Linked DNA regions of Homo sapiens: all the other regions are linked to region 3. Evidence: promoter capture Hi-C in 16 types of primary human blood cells and fetal thymus (Javierre and others, 2016). All regions are on one chromosome and are shown on one strand. The core of a region is centred on a gene start or on the middle of the fragment in contact, and the rest is flanking DNA. Distances in the headings are between cores, read along the strand shown.

Region 1 (3,057 bases), core at 462-2,961, 540 kb after region 3:
GTGGGGAGATTTTGTGCTCTGACAGTAGAGCAGCCTCCAGGGATCAGGGTAGGAGACAGGAGACAGTGTCTGGAGCAGACACTGCATCTGGGCGTCAGGTCATTTGGGGTCTGGGGCTGGGGGATGGGAGGTGGTGGGTTAGGGGAGTGGAAAGGGATTCTGGAAACCAGGGATCAAGGCGCCAAGGGTGGGACAGGATCAGAGGCTCACTGAGGAAGAATCTGGAGGGCTAAGGGGCTCCTAGGCTAGGGAAACAGGACCTGGGTTGGGCTTTTGAGGTTCAGGAAAGGATGCAGCTTTAGGGAACCAGGTCTGAGAGGTAAAGAAGAGCATCTGGACTGAAGAGTTTGGGGGTGACTTGGGGTCCCTACATTGGGGTTGGAAGGGGCCAGCTTGGCTGGGACAGTTAGATTTCAGGGCTTCCTGGTTAAAGGGTAAAAGAAAGGGCTATGGTTAAGGCTAGAGGTGGGCTTCCGAGAGGTTTTGGGGTCCTTCCTGTGAACCAGGAATGGCAATCTGAGGGGAGGTTGGGGCCCTGAGAACACAGTTGCGGTCAGGACTGGGACGGGGCTCAGGAGGAGGGAGGCGTGAGTGGCAGTCCTTCTCGGACAGGGTGAAGGATGGGATCTTCGTTTCTCATGGGGATGGGGTTCATGGTCTGAGGGTACTGGAAGGATATGGGGTCCTCTTGGAGGCAATCCTAGGAAGAGGATTGGAGAAGTGGTGAGAACAGGCGCCAAGCAGCTGTGGGAATGCAATGCAGGACCCACTTGACGTGAGGTTGTAGAATCACATACTGACTTGGGGGAGGCCAGGGCAGAAGCGCTGGCTGAGAAGGCATTCAGGATCCTTGGGGTGGGGTTCCAGAAAACCAGAGCTGTGTAGGAACAATTCAGGCAGAGAAGGGCTGGGGCCTGGGGCGGGATGGAACTTCCCCAAGGAAAGGAGCATGTGGTGGGAGGGTGTGGTGTTTTTCCTGGGAGAGCTGGGGGTGCTGGGTGGGAAGGGACATTTGCAGACCCCCCCCCATACCAGATGGGGGATCCCACATGCCAGTTTGGGAAGCAGGGTTTTCTGGTGAAATTTGGGGGACCCTGGAAGGACTGGGGAGACCAGATGTCAGGGTCTGGAGGACACAGTTGAGAGCGGACAGCTGGATGGAAAAAGTCACTGGAGTGTGGTGGGATTTGTAGACTCAGGAGCCAAATAGGTGGCCGCAGGGAACTAGGGGGCAGGAGGGGATGATCAGAGTCCTGTGGGGTGGGGGAAGCCCATGGGAGGGTTGGGGTCCTCCAGAGAGAGACAGAGATGGCCCAGAATCTGCCCCTTTGGTAAAGCGGTGGGACAGGGCGTTGGCTAGGGAAGAGGAGAAAGTACTGAGGCTTCCTGGGAGGAGCAGGAATCTGGTGTGGGAGTGAGCACTATGACAACATGGAGGAGCGGGGGTGGAAGTTTAGGGTGGGGCCGCGCAAGATAGATAAGAGCCGGGGCACCCCGGACTAGGATAGACTGTGGGCCAGAGGGATGAGGGTGGGGTGTTGGAGGGGAAGGTCTTATCGGGGGGGGATGTGAGGCCAGCAAGAGAATCAGGGCCCGTTCCCCCTCCCACATCCCCCCACTGTCTCACCAGTCCCCCCCAGGGACAGGGCGAGGCACAGAACCAGGAACCACATGGTGACAGAGGTGTCCAGGGGCCAGCAGGTGGAGGAACTGGGGAACCTCCCTGGGGAGGCTTTTAAAAGCCCTTATCCCCTCAGAGCCCCACCCCTGCCCTGCTGGCACCCAGATGTTGGCCAAGGCCCTTCCCCTGTTGCCTGGGGGCTGGACAATTGCCCCCCCCCCCTCCGATCCCCAGAGCTGTAGACGGGGAGGGAGAACCAGCACCTGTTCTGCAGGCCCTGGATCACGCTGGACGCATTCCTGGGGTTGAAGCCAGGTGGGGCAGGGCCTGTGGCTCTGGGGCTTTGCTCTGGGGAGCAGCCAGTGAGGCAAGGGGGGACTGAGGGGAAGCAGAAACAGGAAGACGGAGGAATCAGTGACCCCTGGTACAAAGCCCCATATACCTCAGTCTCAATTAAGGCCCTGCACCCCCAGACCTGGTGCCCTCAAACACCAGCAGTTAGGGCTCTGATTCCCTGCACCACTCGGAGCCAAGATACTAGCATCTCAGCTGCCAGTTCCCCCTGAAATATAAGCCTTGGCCTTCAGAATGCCCTGGTTCTTGCACTCCCAGACCCAGGACCTAGGTCCCCAAAGCTACTGTTCCTTTCATAATAAAATTTTGGGGTACACATCACCACATTCCTAGTGCCTCCAGATCCAGGAATGTGAAGTTTCAGGGGTCTCCCAGGGTAAGTTCTTTAGCATTACAAAATCCAGTGTCCCTCCCAAACAATGCTGGGGTCTCAATGAGCCTCCCACTTCTTGCTCCCAGTTATGGGTGCTCAACGTCCTGTCCTCCAAAGTCCCAGAGATCTGGACAACCTTCCCTCCCAGGTCAAGATCAGGCTAACCACAGATTCCAATGACCCTTCCCCCCCACCACCAGTACAATATTTAGGTCTCACGAGCCAGGTTCATGTACTTCAACATTCAGCGACCTTGAACATCACATTTTGTGGTCTCTGAAGATAATTAGGAACTAGATTCCTGCAGCCTCAATGGTAAACCCATAGGCTTCCAACAGGTTGTCTTGGCTTTTTGGTAAAATCAAAGCAGCTCAGAGTTCCAGCCTCTGCTGTATATCAGGGACCTGGCTAAGGAAAGGACAGTATTTGCCTTTTTGCCATGGCTACCAGGAAGCCCAGAACTAAATCTTTTTTTTTTTTTTTTTTTTTCTGAGATGGAGTCTTGCTCTGTCACCAGGCTGGAGTGCAGTGGCGCGATCTCGGCTCACTGCAACTCCTGCCTCCTAAGTTCAAGCGATCCTCCCACATCACCCTCCCAAGTAGCTAGGATTACAGTCGTGTGCCACCACGCCCGGCTAAATTTTTTTAGTATTTTTAGTAGAGATGGGGTTTCACCATGTTGGCCAGGCTGGTCTTGCACTCCTGACCT
Region 2 (2,984 bases), core at 3-2,502, 690 kb after region 3:
GTCCAGTAACCCATGGTGAGATTCTGATTAGATCTTTCTACTTTCTTGGGCACTGATTTGCCTTCCTGTCGACAGGAGAGGGTTACCCTAGGGGGCCCTAGCGTTCTTCCTCTGTATGGGAGTTTTCCTCGGAGCCTGGCTCTGTGCGCAATGGCCACCCACCCCGCCCACCCGGCAGGTTCTGTGATGTCTGTGATCTCACCTGCTGCAGGCCTCCGGGCTCCGGGGATTCTTGAGTCGGGGGAAGGAACAGCTTTGAGACGAGGAGGCAGAAAGAGTTAGAAATGCGGGGAGCCGTGAGGAGAGAAGACACTCAGATGCAGTGGCAGAGCCAAGCGGAGGACGCAGGGGCCGCAGAGCCCAGGGCTGCAGGGACTGCCAGACACACACCCCCAGCTCCCAGGCCTCCCTGGAAGAGGCTGGTTCTGTCCCCAGATGCTTCTGGAACGTCCTTTTAACCCCTGTCTCTCAGGTCCCTGAGCCAGGAGACTGGCTACACCCTTTTCCTCCTTACCCAGGCCTCCCACACACATTCCTCCCGCCCCCACGCTCTGCTCTTGGTGACCCCTGACCAGGCCTCCAGGGAAGGGAGCACTGGTCCCTGAGTGCAGTGAGGGCCTGGACTCCTGGGTCTGAGGGAGGAGGGGCTTGGGGGCCTGGACTCCTGAGTCTGAGGGAGGAGGGGCTGGGGGCCTGGACCCTTGCGTCTGAGGGAGGAGGGGCTTGGGGCCTGGACTCCTGGGTCTGAGGGAGGAGGTGAGAACTTGGACTCCTGGGTCTGAGGGAGGAGGGGCTGGGGGCCTGGACTCCTGAGTCTGAGGGAGGAGGTGGGAACTTGGACTCCTGGGTCTGAGGGAGGAGGGGCTAGGACCTAAACTCCTGGGTCTGAGGGAGGAGGGGCTGGGGCCTGAATCTGAGGCAGAGGAAGTTCTAGTCGGCTCAGTCCTTAGACCTCCGGGTTTTGGAGAAAGAAAGTGTCTGAAGACAAATTCCGGCCTCTGGGGCAAGCAGATGGTGCCCCAGGCCTCCCTGCACCCCCAGCACTCTCTGTGCCACCCAGGGACCTGCAGGCCCTCACTCCGGGCTCTAGAGCCCTCCGGCACTGGGAAGCAGCCTGCCCAGGTTCAGTGCGGTTGGGGTGACTCACACACCTGCCCGTAGGTCCCTCTGTGTGCTGCCTGCCGACCTCTGTGTCCCCAGGAGAGAGCGAGCCAGCCAGCCGGGGAGACAGCTACAGCGTGTGTCACCACACTGGCCCCCGCCCCTGCCCCGGGCTGGGGAGCAGGCCCAGGCGCGATGGGGAAAGGGCCCAGGAACAATCGGGCTTTGTCCGCCCCCAGCACCCCAGTGCCATGCTCCCAGCAGCTCCGGCCTCAACCTCTCTTCCGGCGGGCAGGCGGGAGGGCGGTTACATCAATGGCTTCCTTTTGTCCCTGTCTGACAGTCCTCCTTTGCAGTCTCTGACTGCCCACCTGGCCCTGACTGGAGATTTCGGCACTCCACATCCTCCTGGTCCTTCTCCTCCAAGTCTGCCCACCCCTGAGGTCTCTTGCTCCATCTGTCTCCCTGGCCATGGAGGGGAGGGAGCTTCCATCTCTCTCTCTCTCCCATCTCAGTCTCTGTATTTGTGTCTCTCTCCCTCTTTTTTTCTCTCTCTCCCTTCCTCTCTCCCTTCCTCTCTCCCTTCCTCCCTTCCTTCCTTCCTTCTTTCTTTCCTTCCTTCTTTTCTTTCTTTCTTTCTTTTTTTTTGACGGAGTCTTGCTCTGTCACTCAGGCTGGAGTGCAGTGGTGTGATCTCAGTTCACTGCAACCTCCGCCTCCTGAGTTCAAGCAGTTCTCCTGCCTCAGCTTCCCAAGTAGCTGGGATTACAGGCACCCACCACCACGCCCGGCTAAATGTTTTTTGTATTTTTAGTAGGGAAGAGGTTTCACCATGTTGGCCAGGCTGGTCTCAAACTCCTGACCTCAGGTGATCCACCCACCTTGGCCTCCCAAAGTGCTGGATTACAGGTGTGAGCCACTGTGCCCGGCCTCTCTCCCTTTCTTTCCCCTTGATTCTCTGACTCTCCGTGCTTATCTTCTCCTGGGTCTCTTCTTAGATTTCCCCGGGGGTAGCACTGTGTGTGCCCAGAAGGGAGTCAGTTTCCCCAGGAAGTAGCGGGGATGATTCCCGAGCGATGAGGAAGCTAGCAGGATGGAAGAGGACTTGAGGACTTATTGATGAGATGCGGACACACAGCGAGAGGCATGGAGTTAAGCAGAAATCGGAGAGCACTTGGGAACGACGTGGGGCTGTGATAAGATGGTGGTGCTGGGCAGTAGCAGAGGGATCTGGGAAGATTTAGGGAGGTGTCTTTGAACTTGGGCCTAGAAAGCTGAGCCAGGCGTAGGTCAGGAGGAAAGGCCGTGAAAATGCCTGGCCTGGGTGCACATGGGAAACCACAGGCAGTGGTTGGGGTGGTTGGTATGGGCTGGAGGGTGAGGGTGTGTGCGTGGCAGAGTGGAGAGAAATGAGGAGGGGGAAGTCACTGCGTAATAAGGACAATGATAGGAATGAAGTCTGGCTCAGCACCTGCTTGGGCTGGGCACTACAGGTAACTTAAAAAAAAAAGTTCTTTTTTCTTTTGAGACAAGGTCTTGTTCTGTCGCCTAGGCTGGAGTGCAGTGGCACGATCCTTGCTCGTGGCAGCCTCAACCCTCCTGGGCTCAAGCGACCCTCCCGCCTCAGTCTTCCCAGGAGCTGGGACCATAGGCATGAGCCACTGTTCCCAGCCAACCCTTTTCTTTGTCTTGCATTGAATCTAATTGTCATCTTGCATTGTGCACCCCCCATCACTCCAGGGATGAAGACTACTTCGGTATTCAGTATACTCTCCGGGTGCTCCCTCTCACATTTGGTCCCCACTGACCTCAGCACCTTCTTCTCAGGACGTGCTATCTTCACAGACAGCAAGTCTGATGTTGCACAACCCAGTGACCAGGCC
Region 3 (2,983 bases), core at 81-2,580:
CATGCCCAGCCCTGGCTGTCCTGACCCCTGACTCTCAGCCTCATCCCTTGTCCCAGCTCCAGCTCAGCCCCAGCTCCAGTGCCGTCCTCTCCCATCTAGATCCTCCTCTTGGCCTCTGGGCCTCCAGCCTCTCCCCTAACAGCTCATCCCCTGCACAGCCCCAGAAGCTTCTTTCTTTACCTGGAGCTGACCCTGTCCCTCCTCTGCTCACAGCTCTCCCACGCCTCCCCAGTACTCCTAGACAAAGTCCATGCCTCTCAGTCAGGCATTGAGGCCCTGCAATCTCTGGTCCTTCCTCTGCCTTTAGCTGTATTCATCTCTATCTCTACTTTCCTATTTTATTTGAAAAAAACCTTTTATTTTTCCAGACTTAGCATTAGGCTCCCCTGTGGGAAGTTTCCTGACCCGTCTTCTCTTTCTCCTCTGTCCCAACTCCAGTCACCTTGGGCTGGGACTGTCTCTGCCCATGAGTCTCCCCACCAGACTGAGAGCCCCTTCAAACTAGAATCCCATCAGAGTTAGATCCAGGTCTGTAGCACAGCCTGATATAGGGCCTGATGTATGGTAGGCGTTGAGAAATGCCTATTGAATGAATGAGTGATGGTACGTGCCTGCAGATATCCTTCAACTGGCAGACTTCTATGCATACTTCAAGACCCATCTCAAATGCTCCTCCTTCAGGAAGTTTCTCCTGAATGTTCTAAACAGATTCTGGGCACTTCCTGTGGACCTCCATAGCTCCCATACTGCTACCTTAACCCCTATCACCCTGGCTGTGACTCTGTGTCTCCCCCAGCAGCCGAGGGGCTCCCCAGGAAAGACTCCAGGTCTGATTCACCTCTGCATCTTGGAGGGAGTAATTTTAATTCCCTGGAAGAACTAGGGCTCATAGTATTCACAACTTCACACCACTCAGAGGCAGAAGAGCCCAGCAGAATGACCCCTTTCCCTCTTCAGGCCTCAGTCTCTTCATCCTGGAAATGGAGCACCACCAGCTTACACCTTGGTCACTCATGGCCGTGACCACCAACCACCCTCTCTCTCCTCCCCTCAGCTTTCCGAGTGGCGGCGGCGCCAGGAGGAGGAGGCAGGGGCACTGGAGGCAGGGGAGGAGGCACGGCGCCGGGCAGCCCGGGAGGCCGAGGCCCTGACCCAGCGCCTGGCAGAAAAGACAGAGACCGTGGATCGGCTGGAGCGGGGCCGCCGCCGGCTGCAGCAGGAGCTGGACGACGCCACCATGGACCTGGAGCAGCAGCGGCAGCTTGTGAGCACCCTGGAGAAGAAGCAGCGCAAGTTTGACCAGGTGGGGCACCTCAGTTCACCCAGCCGGGGAATCAGCAAGTCCATCTACGCTTCCCATGGTCGTTGTGAGGAACCAGTAATCCGTGCTGTCACGGCTCAACTAGGCAGTTGTAGTGGACCAGGAAGCAAGACCCTTCTTTGCTCTGGGCCTCTGTAAAATAGGACATCCCTCTGTCCTGATTCATGCCTCTTGCCACAGCATAATTCCTCGTAGCACCCACTTTTACTTTCAGAGCTGCCCTGGTTTTTGGATGACAAAATATACGAATACCTTCAGTACCCCAGAGATTGCTTATGAGAATTAAATCAAATAACTCATCTCACTTCTGCTGATTCACGGGGTACCTCAGGCAAGTTGCTTTTTCCATCTCAGCTTCAGTTCGCCCATCTGGAAAATGGCAATAATACCAAGCATCTGGCAGCCTGAGGATGAAATAAAAATCACAGAACCTTAGAGAGTTCAGATCAGGCAATCCTGAGGTTCAGATCCCAATTCGGCCTCTTGATGGCTGTGTGGCTTGGGCAAATTGCTCAACCTCTCTGTGCTTTATTTTATTCATTTAGAAAATGCAGTGTGAAGCTGGGCACTGTGGCTCATGCCTGTAATCCCAGCACTTTGGGAGGCCAAGGCGGGCGGATTGCCTGAGCTCAGGAGTTCACAACCAGCATGGGCAACACGGTGAAACCCCGTCTCTACTAAAATACAAAAAAATTAGCTGGGCATGGCGGTGTGCGCCTGTAATCCTAGCTACTCGGGAGGCTGAGGCAGGAGAATCACTTGAACTGGAAAGGCGGAGGTTGCAGTGAGCCAAGATCGTGCCACTGCACTCCGGCCTGGGTGATAGAGCAAGACTCCATCTCAAAAAAAAAATAAAAAATTAAAAAAAATTTTTTTAAATTGTCATTTCCCTGTAGGTGGTGCAGTATGTTTTTCTAGCTGACTTACGATTTCTCTCTTTATGTTTGGTTCTTAGTGGTTTGACTGTGATATGCCCAGCTGTGGGTTTTTTGTATTTATCCTGCTTTAGATTCACTGTGCTTCCTGTAGCTGTGGGTTGATGTTTTTGATCAAATGTGGAACATTTCAGCCATTATTTCTTCAAATATTTTTATCTCCCACTCTCTCTCCTTCCCCTTCTTCTTGGACTCCAAATACATATGATTTGATTGTAATACTCTTCCACAGGTCATTGAAGCTTTATTATTTTTGGCATCTTCTGGAATTTTATATAAATTATTTTCACATAAATCTCTTTTGGGATGGGCTTATTTTACTCAAAATAATTTTTTTTTTTTGAGACAGAGTCTCGCTGTGTCACCAAGGCTAGAGTGCAGTGGCACGATCTCAGCTCACTGCAACCTCCACCTCTCAGGTTCAAGCGATTCTCGTGCCTCAGCCTCCCAAGTAGCTGGGATTACAGGTGTGCACCACCATGCCTGGCTAATTTTTGTGTTTTTAATAGAGACGAGGTTTCACCATTTTGGCAAGGCTGGTCTCGAACTCCTGGCTTCAAGTGATCCACCCACCTCGGCCTCCCGAAGTGCTGGGATTATAGGAGTAAGCTACCGCACCCAGCCTCAAAATAATTAGTCTGAGATCCATCCATATTTTTGCATATCAATAATGTATTCCATGTATCAATAATGTATTTTTGCTGCTGAATATTATTCCTGTGGTATA
Region 4 (2,834 bases), core at 67-2,566, 740 kb after region 3:
CTGGTTGGTCAGTAGCCCCTGTCCTGGGCGCTTTGAGTGACTGCTCCCCCAACTCCAGCTTCCTCAGCCCCTCCACGGGACCCTTTACGACCCCCTTGACCTCTCCTCCTTTGGCATTTAAAGGGATTATCTAGAAGGGCATCCAGGCCCTCATGACCACTGCTCCAGTTCAGGTGCCTTATGGGTTGTTCTGTAATTTGGAATCAGCCCTGTCACTGTCCAGACACAGAGGGTTAGGGGATCCCAGAGATTCAAGAGGGAGGATCCTGCCCTGCCCCCATCCCCTGCGTACCTGTTGCCAGAGCAAGCAGGATTAACTGCAGAATCCTCATGGCCTGGAGGGGGGAGGAGCGGGCCCCAGGTTCCTCTGGGAACAAGGAGGGACATGGGGCCGCATCACTTTACGGGGAAATCGGGAGGGGGGGGCTGGCTCATGCCCTCTCCTCTCTCCCTCACCTGCTCCCGCTCCCCACTTGGGAGAAACAAGGTTGGGGAAATCCCCTGTTTCTCACAGCACTCAGATCTCCAAACACTTAAAATATATCTTAGGTGTCTAGGGTGGCCTTGGAGAGGGCCTGGTCACAGCTAGAAGCTTCCGAGATACCAAGAACCATGTGGAAGTCGTTGGGAGGGGCTTTGAGCTGTCAAGCCATGGTTCGGCCCTGTTCAAGTCAGCCATGGGACCTCCCCGGCACATGTCAGAGGATGTTTTCCTTCTTGCCTTGAGAGCTGGCCAGGCCCCAGCAGCTTGGGGTGGAAGGACAAGGGGAACCAGACACCGTTCCGTAGCCACCCCTTTTTCATTGTCTTCGCAGCAGAGCGATATGGAGCCTTTGAGGTCTGCTGGAGGGGAGTAGGGGGCTCAGCCCCAGACAATGTCTGGGACCCCCATCACCCGGCTTGCTGAAGCCCTGTCCGCCAAACCCCTGCCCTTTTGAAGGACAGCCAAGCAAAGCTGGGCGGGGCTGGTCGAGGGGAGGGCCAGTGCCCTCCGCTGCCCTGGCCAGCGGGGGTGGGAGCAGAGGGCCAGCTCAGCAGCTGAAGCCATGGAGATTAGAGGTAACTGAGGCTGCGGACAGCCATCGGAGGTGAGAGGTGTAGAGAGAGGCCAGGAACCCCCACCCAAGCAGAGAAGGACAGAGCAGAGGGAGAAATGGGTGCCCGAGTGGGACAGGTGTCCTTGGGGAGGGCTGACACCTGGACGGGGAGGGGCAGCTTCCCTTTCCTCCTGGACTCACAGGCTCTGGGGCTGGGGCTCTGGGGGCCCAGTGGCGGCGGAGACGGCAGTGGCGGCAGCTACAGCAGGTAGGCTGGGTTGGAGCGCCAGGTGCCAGGCACCAGGCAGGCGGGCTGGCAGGGGGGCGGCCCTGGGCGGGCCCAGGATGACTGGCCTCCAAGCCCTGCCTTAATGCCCCGGGGCGGGGTGTGTGTGAGGGCCCTCCCCGGAGGCCTCTGAGGCACTGGCTGCCTGCCTGTGCCACCTCTCCAAGCCCCTCTTCTCCCTGTGTCTCAGCCTCCCTCTGTCTGTCTGTCTGTCTGCAGCCTTCCTTTCCCTGCCCTGAGTCTCTGAATCTGTGTCTCGTTCTATGTGTCATTCCCTGTCATTCAGTAATTCTGACTTTGTGTGATTTTTCTCTTTCTGTCCCTATGTGTCTGTCTGCCTTTCTCTGTCCTCGTCCCTGTCTCCATCTCCACTCTTCTCTCTCTGTCTGGCTCTGTGTGGCCCTTTCTCTAATTCCTTCTATCTTTGTGTCTCTCAGTCAGTCTCTCTGACTGCATCTCTGGCAATTTGTCTTGAAATCCCTCTTCTTCCATCTAATCTCCGTCTCTCTTTTTCCTCCCGTCCCAGCCACTCCCTCTCCACAGCCCCAGCCCAGGTGGGCCCCTGGCCTCCCCTAGGCCGCTCCCTTCTCCTTTGCAAGGAGAGGGGGGGTGTGCTGGGATGTCACACAGGTGGGGCTGCTGCCAGGCACAGGGGCAGGACCGGAGGGTGGGGGAGGCAGGTCAGGGCCTGTGGAAGCCGAGTCCAGGAAAGGGAACAGAGCCCTTGGCTGTGCTCCACCCCAGGGCTCCTCTGGGGCCTCGCTCCTCTGCTGACCCTTCCCCTGCCCGCTTCTCCCTGCCGCCCAGGCAGCCCGAGTCCAGCTGTTCACTTACTGGCTGCTGTGAGACCTCTGCCCGATGACTTCCAGTCCCGCAGCCACCTCAACCTCTGCATCTGCGGAACCCGAGCGCAGATTCCTGCTTCTCCCAGCTTGTTTGTTTTCAGTTAGGTCCCTTCCCTTGGCTTTCCTCCCCTCTCTCCCCTGACCAGGTGTGGAGCAAGGCAGGGGAGGGCCTAGGTTCTGACAGCAGCCAGCCCTGGCCTCAAACCTAGGTGCTTCCTCTTCCTACTACTATGACTACCCTTATGACGTGGGGACAAGGGACTCCACCCCTGCAAGGCTCAGTTTCTTCATCTGAGAGATGGGGGTGACAGACCTGCTTGCAGGGGAGGTTGGGATCAGGCTTCCAGGAGGGTCCACTTGGAAAGAGCAGACTGCGGGGGGGCTCAGCAAATGTGCCTCCGCTGGTATGATCACCCCTCACTCCCTCCCTCCTCCAGTTTCCCTTCAGTGCATTTGGGGAGATGGTCTCTCCTCACCTCTTGAGTCCCAGTGGAGACAGAATCCAAGGGGTGGGCAGGAGGATTAAAGACGTAGGCTGAGCTCTCCTGCTTTCCAAGCCTGCACTCCACCCTTCGTCTTATTAGAACAAAGCCACGTCCCACATTAAAGATACAATGTATGCTTCATTACAAGAAAGTAAACTGCAGTTGGCTAGTGGAAAGAATG

The links. Contacts are between HindIII fragments. The CHiCAGO score rates a contact against its expected background, and 5 or more counts as called.
Region 1: a contact is called between the fragment with the promoter of KLK1 here and a fragment that was not itself captured in region 3, in 5 of 17 cell types (total B cells, naive B cells, activated CD4 T cells and 2 more). The highest score is 8.2, in total B cells.
Region 2: a contact is called between the fragment with the promoter of KLK6 here and a fragment that was not itself captured in region 3, in 9 of 17 cell types (naive B cells, total B cells, M1 macrophages and 6 more). The highest score is 8.6, in naive B cells.
Region 4: the fragment with the promoter of KLK11 here is called in contact with a fragment that was not itself captured in region 3 in 7 of 17 cell types (naive B cells, fetal thymus, activated CD4 T cells and 4 more); the score reaches 6.9 in naive B cells.

What each region holds. Positions count from the first base shown.
Region 1 is chr19:50,822,076-50,825,132 of GRCh38, forward strand. It overlaps KLK1 (kallikrein 1), which reads right to left and starts at 1,712. Exons shown (of 5, transcript NM_002257.4): 1 at 1,628-1,712. The coding sequence starts at 1,673. The HindIII fragment of the contact is 16,614 bases long and covers 1-3,057 here.
Region 2 is chr19:50,968,339-50,971,322 of GRCh38, forward strand. KLK6 (kallikrein related peptidase 6) reads right to left here and starts at 1,253. Exons shown (of 7, transcript NM_002774.4): 1 at 1,152-1,253; 2 at 203-253. LOC105372442 (a long non-coding RNA gene) reads left to right here. Exons shown (of 7, transcript XR_007067308.1): 4 at 1-15. The HindIII fragment of the contact is 4,765 bases long and covers 1-2,984 here.
Region 3 is chr19:50,280,540-50,283,522 of GRCh38, forward strand. It overlaps MYH14 (myosin heavy chain 14), which reads left to right. Exons shown (of 43, transcript NM_001145809.2): 33 at 1,055-1,303. Among named protein-coding and RNA genes, the nearest start is that of KCNC3, 47 kb to the right of the region's middle. The HindIII fragment of the contact is 2,331 bases long and covers 166-2,496 here.
Region 4 is chr19:51,025,300-51,028,133 of GRCh38, forward strand. It overlaps KLK11 (kallikrein related peptidase 11), which reads right to left and starts at 1,317. Exons shown (of 6, transcript NM_001136032.3): 1 at 1,239-1,317; 2 at 293-367. The coding sequence starts at 332. RefSeq lists enhancers at 396-954, 955-1,512, 2,072-2,628. The HindIII fragment of the contact is 2,362 bases long and covers 591-2,834 here.